Regions from separate parts of the Homo sapiens genome. Here region 2 is linked to region 1. The links are contacts of gene promoters, found by promoter capture Hi-C in human tissues and cell types (Jung and others, 2019). All regions are on one chromosome and are shown on one strand. The core of a region is centred on a gene start or on the middle of the fragment in contact, and the rest is flanking DNA. Distances in the headings are between cores, read along the strand shown. Region 1 holds the start of STC1 (stanniocalcin 1). Region 2 overlaps LOC107986931 (a long non-coding RNA gene).

The links. Contacts are between HindIII fragments. The study calls those that stand out against the background at their distance.
Region 2: a fragment that was not itself captured here is called in contact with the fragment with the promoter of STC1 in region 1 in 4 of the 25 tissues and cell types used here (H1 embryonic stem cells, mesenchymal stem cells, mesendoderm cells and 1 more).

What each region holds. Positions count from the first base shown.
Region 1 is chr8:23,852,541-23,857,893 of GRCh38, forward strand. STC1 (stanniocalcin 1) reads right to left here and starts at 2,266. Exons shown (of 4, transcript NM_003155.3): 1 at 1,866-2,266. The coding sequence starts at 1,983. The HindIII fragment of the contact is 6,962 bases long and covers 274-5,353 here.
Region 2 is chr8:24,106,424-24,111,398 of GRCh38, forward strand. All of the region lies in intron 2 of LOC107986931 (a long non-coding RNA gene), which reads left to right. Among named protein-coding and RNA genes, the nearest start is that of ADAM28, 190 kb to the right of the region's middle. RefSeq lists an enhancer at 1-575. The HindIII fragment of the contact is 4,994 bases long and covers 1-4,076 here.

The DNA.
Region 1 (5,353 bases), core at 1,016-3,515:
AAGAGAGGATAGACAGGCTCCTTTTGTTTATGATTGCTGGAGTACATGATGGACAGGGAGGGAGTTCTCTGTTTCAGACACACGCTCCCTGTTTCACCATTACCTACAATTTTGGTGTCTGGAGAAGTGAGGCTCAAGTCTGGAAATGCACAGTGCCTTTAAGCCATTCCATAGAATCAAAGGTCATTGCTTAGCACTTGAAAGCATGGGAAGGAAGGAGACAGTGGCTAGTGGTCAGGTTTAAGAGGTAAAAGGGCCAGGGAATCCATCTAGCTTTGGAAAAATGCACTCCCGAGTAAAAAGCATGGGATTTTAGTCTAAATGGCAGAGAAGACTGTGCCAGGAGTCCACTTGGAGACCCTTCTGATTTCAGGCTTTTAACTTACCGTCATATTGGCAAAAAGAAATCTGATCCGTTCATGTTTCACCCCAACCCTCCACTAGGACAGTGCTTAGAGGTATGCATAATCTCTTTCATATTAAAAGCCTTTTAAAAAAGAAAGAAAGAAAGAAAGAAAGAAAGAAGAAACACAGGTGTGGAATAACCAGGCCAAGGCCTCCCTATGCAAGACTGGAAGAAAACCGCAAAAAACTTGCATGAGGCTTTCTACATTCTGGATAAGATCTCCCATAAAAGTAATTTTTCTCCCACAGAAGGGGGGTGTTCTGGCAGGCAGCTAGGCAAGGAATGATCTGCAGCCTTCATGCCATAGGATTCTCCTCTGAGATCAAAAGCATGGTTCAGTTAGTCTTCCCCACCCCCTCCCACCACCCGCAGCCTCTAGGATGTTACAAGTCATTTCCCTAATTATATATTTCCACGGGTTTAAATTATAACTTTGCTTTAAGCAGTTTTAATATGCATTAGGGCTGCTATTGTTTTAGGCAAGCTCGAATTGTGAATCACTGCATCTCTATAGCAACTAAGTACAAAAGGAAGTGAAGCAAAAGCCCTCCTCTCGGCAGGGACCTGTGCTCTTCCAAGGGGATCATCATCTGCAGCATTTTGACACCTGTGATCCGGTCTTTGCTGACAGTTGGAGGACAGAGGGCAGTATTGGAAGGGGAACAAGTGGAGCCAGAGAAGTCAAGAGGCAGAGGTGTCAATGCAGGCTTCCTAATGATTCTTTTCCTTCAGAAGCCAAGATAATGCACAATTAACTGCTCCAAGAGTCAAGACGAAAGTGAGACCTTACCCTTGGAGAAACAGCTGCTACGTTTCACAATTTTTTTTTTCTAGGGGCTCTCTGGCTACGGGCTGCAGGGACGACTGAATGGAGCCCTACAGAGCCAGGAGGGAGACAGGCAGCAGGGTTGGGGGTGGGATGTATAGGGTTTTCTCTGAATCCGCCCTGGATTTGTCAGACTTGAGGGCTATGGTTCTGAAAATCAGTCTGAAGAGGGAGCTTTTCTGTGTATTCTCTTAGGTAGAGAAGTCAAGAAGTGAAGAGGTAGAGTCTTAAGAGGAAAGGAAGAGGGACAGCATCAAACAAGCCAGGTCTTACCTTAGATCAGCTTCTGGAAAGTATAGAGAGCGCTTTGAAGCATGCCAACATTCAAGCCTTTCCTCCCCTCTCACCCCTCCCCCTCCAAGAGGGTACGTGCCAGATTTCAGGCAATCAGGCTAGGCTTATGCAATGAAATACCCTCAGCAGAGCGTCCAGCTTCTTCGTTTAGTTGCATGCAATTTATTAAACAAAGGAGCTCCACTGCCTAAGGCTATTGGATTACACTGGCAGTTTATTGCCATCAGGCATGAAGCACATTTATTATCAAGATCAGCCGTCACAGACACAGTTGCAAAAGGGAGAGGCAAATGAGGACAGCTCTTTGGGGGAGAAACCGCTCTTGGGTTTGCTGCTTACCTGAGTTTTGAGCCGCCACTCGGGATTTCCTGGGGCTCACAGAGTCATTCTGCTCCGCCTCATGGGTTGCAGAAGCACTGATCACCAGCACCAGAAGCACTGCTGAGTTTTGGAGCATTCTCTGAGAAGTTTCCGCTAAGTTGTTGGGTTTTTTTTTTTTCCTGCCCCCCTTTCCTCTTTCCCTCTCCTGGCTTGAGTGAAGATGTGGATCTGGATACACTGAAAGCTTAGGTGAGGATTTGATGAGGATTTTTTTTTGTTGTTGTTGCTGGTGATGCTGCTGCTGCCACCGGTGCCTCCGCTGCTGCTGCTGCTGCCGCCGCTGCTGCTGCTGCTGCCACCGCCGCTGCTGCTGCTGCTGCTGCAGTCGCTGCTTCTTGCACCTCTGGCTTTTGCAAACTGGGGGCCCAAGAGCTGCACCCAGGGATTTTATAGCCGTTCTTATCGGTCCTCAGGATCAAGGACCAATCAGGTCCCTCAACTGGTCTGGTGAGCCAATAAGAGGGCATGCAATTCAGCTGGAGCTTTTTGACTTCTTAGAAATATTTTCCAGCAAATTAAAAGTACCTGCTGCCAATGTTTTATATGTGTGTGTGACTGTGTGTGCAGAGATGTGTGAAAAAGCTATTTTCGTGGAAGTAAGAGATAACTCTGTATTGATTGAACTAAAGAAAAATCCTATAGAAATCTCTCCAAGTTGCTTTTTGAAATCTAGCCATCTTTTTTTCTAATGAGCCACTTGGGGGAAATGGATAGCAGGGGTATGGTGGGGAAATGTGATCTCTTTAGATGAGAACTTAACCTGCTTACAGCAGTTTTACTCTAATTTTAACAGCACATTCTCGGTTCTGTTTTGTAGGCTACAAATGCAATAACTCCCTATCTTCTCTGTGTGTACATGTTCACATGTCTATGATGCATTTTTGTTTGTATGTGGACATCCTGGGTTCTCACTCACACATTTGAGCCCTTGAGGGGGAATTTATGTGAGTGGAAAAGCCTTGGGGGACTGAGATATGACAGCTCAGAGCTGAAGCCTTAGTCCCCCTACTGATCAACCTATGACTCTGGCTAAGTCTTTTTACCTTGCCCCACCTCGTTTTCCCATCTGTAAAACGCCAAAGTTGGACTCTGACATTCTGTATACCTCTAAAATAATGTGATTCTTCAATAATCAAATCAACTTTGACTTCATCTTTTCAGTCACCAGCAAAATTGCATAGTCCAGGAGTGTTAGTTACCCCAGGTACACATGTGCACACCTGCACATACCACACTCAACAGGGAGACATCATGAATGCCTGAAAATTAATAATCTGTGTTCAAGCCCAGCAACTTTATAACCACTTTGAAACAATAAGCTGGCCAAAGCAAGACTAAACCTGCTGAATGGAAACCAGTTCATTTCTTGGGGAGAGGGGTAGGAAAAAAGGGGGCAGAATGGAAAGAAGGGGTAGAGAAAGACCAGAATGTGTAGGAGAGAAGAATGATAAGCTCTAGACTTAATAGGAAAATTGCACTGCAATCACAAATCATGCCTGGTATAGAAACTTATATTTTCTTATAAGTGAGTTGTAGGCAATGCTGAGGTTTGTCCCCAACATGTGAAGGAGGTTAATGAGCCAGAAGAGGACTTCTTAGGGTAGGAAGGTGGTGAAGGTATTATACAATAAAACCTTTAATAATTTTGGGGAAGTAGATGAGAAATGGCCACTGGTGATTCATACAGATTTGGGCAGGATAATCTTGCAGAGAAATGGGGCCAGTGGCTTTACTTTGCATCCTAAAACCTTCAAACAAAAGTTGAAGAAAGAGTGCCACCCCTGTTAACCACAAACTAAACCAAGTGTCAGCTCTGTGTATGTTGTGGGGTGATAGGGTGGTGGGGGGCGGGGGGGGGGGGGCGGCGGACGGTTCTGGGTGATGATAGCCTATCCCTCACAAAATAGGGTTGTTTGGTAAGTATGAAAGTTTGCTAGAAAAAGGAATAGAAGGAATAAAGGATACAGGAAATATCTAAAAGAAAGGAAGGGAATTTTCAGATTTACATTATATAACAAGAATACATTTTAATTTATATTAACAGGCAGTATTGGTATTTCTTTAGAACCTTCTGGGCTGAGTGCTAGGGGACAATGTGGGAGGATAAATGAGAAGACATAGAGAAGAAGGTAAGTTCATTATTCTTGTCCTGAAGGTACTTACAGGTGAGTTGGGAAGATGACCAGCCACAGTCATACTTCCTAAAGGTTCGGGATGTCAGGACCTCATATAGTAAGACACAGGCTCAGGCAGCACTGGCTGGAGATGGGGGGAAAGCTCTTGAGGGAAAGATCAGTGGGGAAAGATGTAAACTGCTGTTGTTGCTTTTTAAGAATTTAGGAAAAGCTATGCTATTTCATTTTTAAAAAACAAAGCTTGTATTGTGGAAAGCTTCAAGGTTATTTGTATTGCTTTAGTTAGAAGTAGTAGATGCCAGGCAAGGCAATAGAATTTCTCAGTGCTCTCTTCCAGAAAGGGAGTAAGAGGACAGATGCGTATTCCTCCCAAGGGTCTTGACTTCTGTTCTTTAGCATTCTCTACCTCCTTGGCCATTATTCATCATCTAAGGCAGTGCCATTTGTTTCTCTTGGGCTTTCCCTGAGTTGGTCTGCTTGGCTTGGTAGGGTGATGATTTACCACCAGCCATCTACTTTGTTTTTCCAACTCTCCGTTGCTCTCACCAGAACACGATGTCCTACAAGCATCAAGATGTGTTTGTGTTTTTTTTTTCTGATGTTGATTTATTATTCCTTCTTATTTTGCTCACTTACTATCTTGTGCCTGGAAGTTCATTGCTAGGTGTGCCAAGTGTTTCCCAATAACAGGTAAACTGTCCTTTGAAGAAATACAATAGTGGTCAGCCCATTGATTTGAATGTAACTAGTATGCATGCCAATGCATTTGAGAACCTTAGGGGAAGGAGCTGAAGTCTACATGAAATGCCCAGTGTAAAATTTCTGCCTAGAATGTCATGGTATGTGGATATCCAAGTGCCCTCAATCATTGTGCAACTGTCTGGAACTGTGATATAGCAAGATAAAAGGGTCTTGGGGGCCCTGGTGGTGATGTCTGGTTTCTTTGTAACTTCTCTTGGGGGTCTGAGAGAATATGGAGGAGTTTGCTTAGCGCTCTTCACAGTCTGAGTTTTATCCTGTAAGGAACAGGAAGTTATTCGGGCTCTTGAGTAGGAATTGTTAAATGATGGGTGGAAATAAGTGTTTAGGCAAGATTATTTCATCATACTTATGATGGTTTGGAGGAAGAAAAGAACAGAAGTTTTAAGACTTGTTAATAACAGAATTTTGTTGATGAGATTCTGGCCTACAATGGTTGTGGCAGGAAAGGAAGGGAGACAAATATGAGAGATGTTTTAAATGAACTGGAAATTATTAATTAACCTAAGGATTGTCTTGGGAAAAACCTTTCTCCCAGTTTAGTGGTAATGG
Region 2 (4,975 bases), core at 330-2,829, 250 kb after region 1:
GAACGTAGTGTAAGTGGGAGGTGTTCAACTGCCTAGATCATAGACAAGTGTTCAGGCAGTGGTAGTCTCTGTGAAAAGTCCCTGAAATGGAAACGGCTGGGTGTCCTTGAAAAGCTGAAATGAGGCCAGTATGCAGGAGATAGCTTGAGGGAGAATGGTTCAAGAGAAAGAGAAATAGTTCCCAGATAATAAAGCTCTCCTGGACCTAAGCACAGTGGGAATCCATTAAAGGGTTTAAATCAAGAGAATAGCCTGGCCAGATTGTATTTACAAAGATCACTTTGCCTGCTGTGTGGGAAACCACTGAAGAGCAAAGTTTGCAAGCAAGGACAGTAATTAGCAAGCTCTTGTAATCATTCTAGCAAGTGATGGTATTGAGGTGGACTAATGTGGTCATAGAGGTGGTGAAGAACAGTGTGCAATTTTGAGATATATTTTACAGTCAGGATCTGCATGACTTGATTCTGAATTGGATGTTAGAAGTGAGGCAGAAAGTTGAGACTCATAGTCGAGTCTCAGATTTACAGATTGAACACTAGCTGGGTGGATCATGAAGCCATTTACCAACTCAGTTCCACAGAGGAAGGAAGTTTTGATGGAAGACCTTAAAGCTGAGCTACAGGTCTTAAAAGTCTATTTAAGTTTTTATTTCATGTAGACTTCATATCGAGTTTAAGTTTCCCAGCAGAGTCACAGAGTGCAATGCTACGTAAGTCTGGAGCTTTCAGCAGAATTCAAGCTTGGAGATACAAATTCAGCAACTCACTGAACCATGGAGAGTTGTGAAAGCAATAGTATAATGGGACTCCAGGGCATTGTCACTAAGAGAAGTTGGAGCGGTTGCCTCCTTCTGATTAGTATGTAAAAATTAACTGAGGAGATTAGGTTAGGAGGACACAGGCCATGATCAGGAAGCTCAAATCGATCATTAGGCAATGAGAGTAATTGAGAATCAGAGCACAGGCTTCTTTTGAGGGGGGAAAAAACAAGCAGCTCTGTCTCTCCCATAAGACATATGATAAAATATTAAGCACGTACCGTGTAACAGGCATCATGCAAGGCATTTTGTAAACCTTTTTCCAATGTAAACTTTATAAAAAGTTTGCATTGTTCTAAAAGATATGTATACACATAGGTTAAGGGGTTGAATAGTTCTACAAAGGTTATTATGAAAACCACGTTTCTTCTGCCACTATTTCCAGCACCCACTCCTTATAGGCAGCTGCTTTCCATTCTTTTAGCTTTTTCTCTTGGTATTTCCATGTATGTCCTAAATAACACATTTTATGATGTTAATTCCTGATTTTTTATTTTTATTTTTTTTTGTTTCAGGCATTGTATTTTAGCTTTTCACTATGAAAAATGAGAACTTAGCCTTTTTCTTCAGGCTCTTCCTCCAAACACAAAGGCACTGAGAGAATAGACTCTAAAGCTATAGACAGTGTAGAGTGGAATGCACTTTTAAAAGCTTCCTGGTAGAGTTTGAATTGCCAGTTGCATCTCCAGGTAAAAGAGATGGCTTGACAGAACGTAAGGGCAGCAGCAGTGTCTCACCTACAGAGGAAGCTTCTCACCTGGACAGGAGTGGTAAAAGGCAGTTGTGACAATGACCACAGCACCTTGCATTTCAAAGCTTTATGTCTTTGCAGTGCATTTTCCCACTGACTCTTTAAAGGACTTCTGATATTCCAGTGAAGTAAGTCGGGCAATAGTATTTGTATAATTTTTTCCCTCAAAAAGGAAATTGAAGTTAAGAAAATTTGGGTGATTAAGCCAAGATGAGTGACAATTGCGATTATGGCAATGAGGGAAATCATTGATTGATAGCTATGTTTCAATACTAAATGAACACAGTAATCTTTGTTTCTAACAAGCAGTATAAAGTACATATGTGTATGTCCATAATAAACATGTATTTGCATATAAATTATATAGGTATTTAACAGTGTACATATTTCACTGGCTGTTAAAACTGTACATGTGTATGTATATATTAATATATAGCATAAATTGGTACAAGACTAGAAGAAAATAAGCAAAAACTGAAATAATTTAGTTGGAAAGATCAGATTGTGAGTGGTAGCTTAAAATTATTTTTTTCCTGCTATACTATAGCTAAGCAAATTAAAATATTTGCTAAGTAAATTAAAAAGTAGTACAACTTAGCAGGTTAAAAGAATTTTTTTCCCACCTATGAGTGAGAACATGCAGTGTTTGGTTTTTTGTCCTTGCGATAGTTTGCTAAGAATGATGGTTTCCAGCTTCATCCATGTCCCTACAAAGCCCATGTACCGTAAAACTTAAAGTATAATAATAATAAAATAAAATAAAATAAATAAAAAGAATTTTTTTCTTTCTTTTATCTTTTTTTTTTCTTTTTAAAGATGGAGTCTTGCTCTGTTGCCCAGCCTGGAGTGCAGGGGAGTGATCCTGACTCACTGCAACCTCTGCCTCCTAGGCTCAAGAGATTCTCCTGCCTCAGCCTCCAGAGTAGCTGGGATTATAGGCATGTGCCGCCACGCCTGGCTAATTTTTGTATTTTTGTAGAGACAGGGTTTTGACATGTTGCTCAGGCTGGTCTCAAACTCCTGGCCTCAAGTGATCCGCCTGCCTAGACCTCCCAAAATGCTGGGATTTCAGGTGTGAGCCACTAAGCCTGGCTAAGGATTTGGATTTGTTATTACAAATGCCATGGGCTGTTGTTTAGAAATCCACATGAATTAAATTGTTTTAAGAGAAATTATCAAGTGAGCATAAGAGTATAAGAAAGGGTAGGGATAGAATCTTTCCTCATTTTACAATGTGCCCTCCCCAATCCCTATTTCATCATACATATATAAAATTGTAATTTTTTGTGTATGTTAGCTAGTGAAACATGATTATTCATGAATCAGCATGTGAACTCATAGACTTACTATTGCCTGTCACACAGCCACAAGTGCACACCTGCTTAATTCACTGTGCCCCTCTGCAAAGCAGTCATGACACTGCTAGCTGGGAGAGAGTCACAGAAAGATCTGTTGCTGTGAATTAATCATGAAGGTGATAATGCCTGGACAAGGGCATGTATGGGAAAGGGTAAGGCAATAATTTGAAGACATCTATTTTCCCCAAAGAAGTTAGTTGGAAAAATCAATATTCTGAAAACTGCTTAATATATGATTTTTTTTTCAAACTTTGGGCAGTGTAGCAGGCATGCCATTGAAAAACAATTGAATTAGCAATTGAAAGCATTGTTGAGAATGCCAAGTCTCTTCCACGTGGATGTCATGTCTATGAAAAATGCAAAGGTGGCTTGGGATGTGAAAAACTGTCTAACCCAAATCCCTGGTGAGAACATAATGCCTCTTTAATAAATTCAATAAAAATATAATAAATTATATTTAATTTTATAATAACCAGTAAATTTATAATAAATTCATGTATTTATTTTTATTAAAGTAACTTTATAAAATTATTAATAAATTTGTAGTAATTAATAACATTACTTTTGTTAATATAATAAAAACTCATAGAAGGCCAAATTGCAACTTTCTAACATAACCACTAGAACAGTAAATTGAAGAGGAAACTAAGCCTTCCTGCATCATTCCATAATGGATGTGACACGCATTCGAATGGTAGTATCTACTCTGGGTGACATGGTATAACCTACACTCTGAATAATCCCAAGAAAATGGCTAGCTCTACTTTTTTTCCCTGTGGTATGCTTATCTCTTGCTGATAAATGCATTATTTATCTTTGTAATGCTATATGATTACTTACAAATGAATTCCACCCCCTACCTCCAAATAGCAGTACGCTACCCTCTCCAGTGCGAAAACTTGATTTCGTGAGGAAGTGAGGAAGTTGATTTAAGAATGTCCAAATGAAAATAATAGGTTCGAGCTTAGAATGATTAAGGAGTTTTGCATTTCATTAATTTCTCTTTCTCTATTGTTTTAGAGAAGAGTTTTCATCCACTTTGGATTAAAAGTTTCATGTCTTCTTGATAAGTACTCTATATCCTAATATAAAGCTGATATAAAATGTGCATTTCCTTCCTCCTTGTATCAGAGATTATTGGTATACAGTGGTCGGAAGACTTTCTTCTATGGACTCAGGCTCACTTTGTCCTTCTTACGGGCATTTTTTTAAATTTATATTTCTACAGAATAAGTAACGAACCTATAGGGGAATAGACTGATGAAAAGTCACAGCATCATGCTGAATCAAATGGGCACAGAGAACTGTTCAAAGTGGACCAGTCATCAGGAACAAGTGGCTCCTTAGGCCAGACCCCAGGACCTCCTGAACCAGGACTGAGGAGTGGTTTAGGTTTTTATGCCCCTGGGTTAGTGAACATAGCTATGTCACGCACAGGACAGTAGGCAGGAGCATCTGCTCATTTTCACAACAGAACAACCAAGGGGTCTTTGGGTTATGACAACTTGAACTCTAGAGTTAGATGGCAGGGGTACCTCATTTGGCCCGGGAAGGATGATAGAGGAAGGCCACTGTATGTTCAGTAGCACAACTGCCATCCAGTGGGTAACGACCTTTGCAGCAGTTTGTCCCACAGTGGCCTTTCTCCTTTTGTTGTGGTTTTTACAATCATGGAAGAAGGCAAACTGGTGAAGAGAATTAAAATGTTCTCAGCAATTTCTCTCTCAAAAGGCTCTTCCAGTCCACCATTTGTCCAGCCAGCGCTATTTTCAGGGTGACTTGTGTTTGTGCTTTTTTTGGGTTTAAAATCCACAGTCTGGCCTATTTCCCTGGCTATTAGCCTCTTCCTTCTTTGCTCTTCCAGCAGAAACAGAGCTGCTTTTTTTTTTTTTTTTTTTTTTTTAACCTCTGTGACTTCCCAGGGACAAGTGTCCAGTCACACTCCCATAGTGTGTATTGCTCTTCTATAGGAAAATTAAGATTTAGTCACACACACGTACACACTTATAAGTCCTTATTGCCGATGGGTGCAGTTTGGGAATTCAAGTT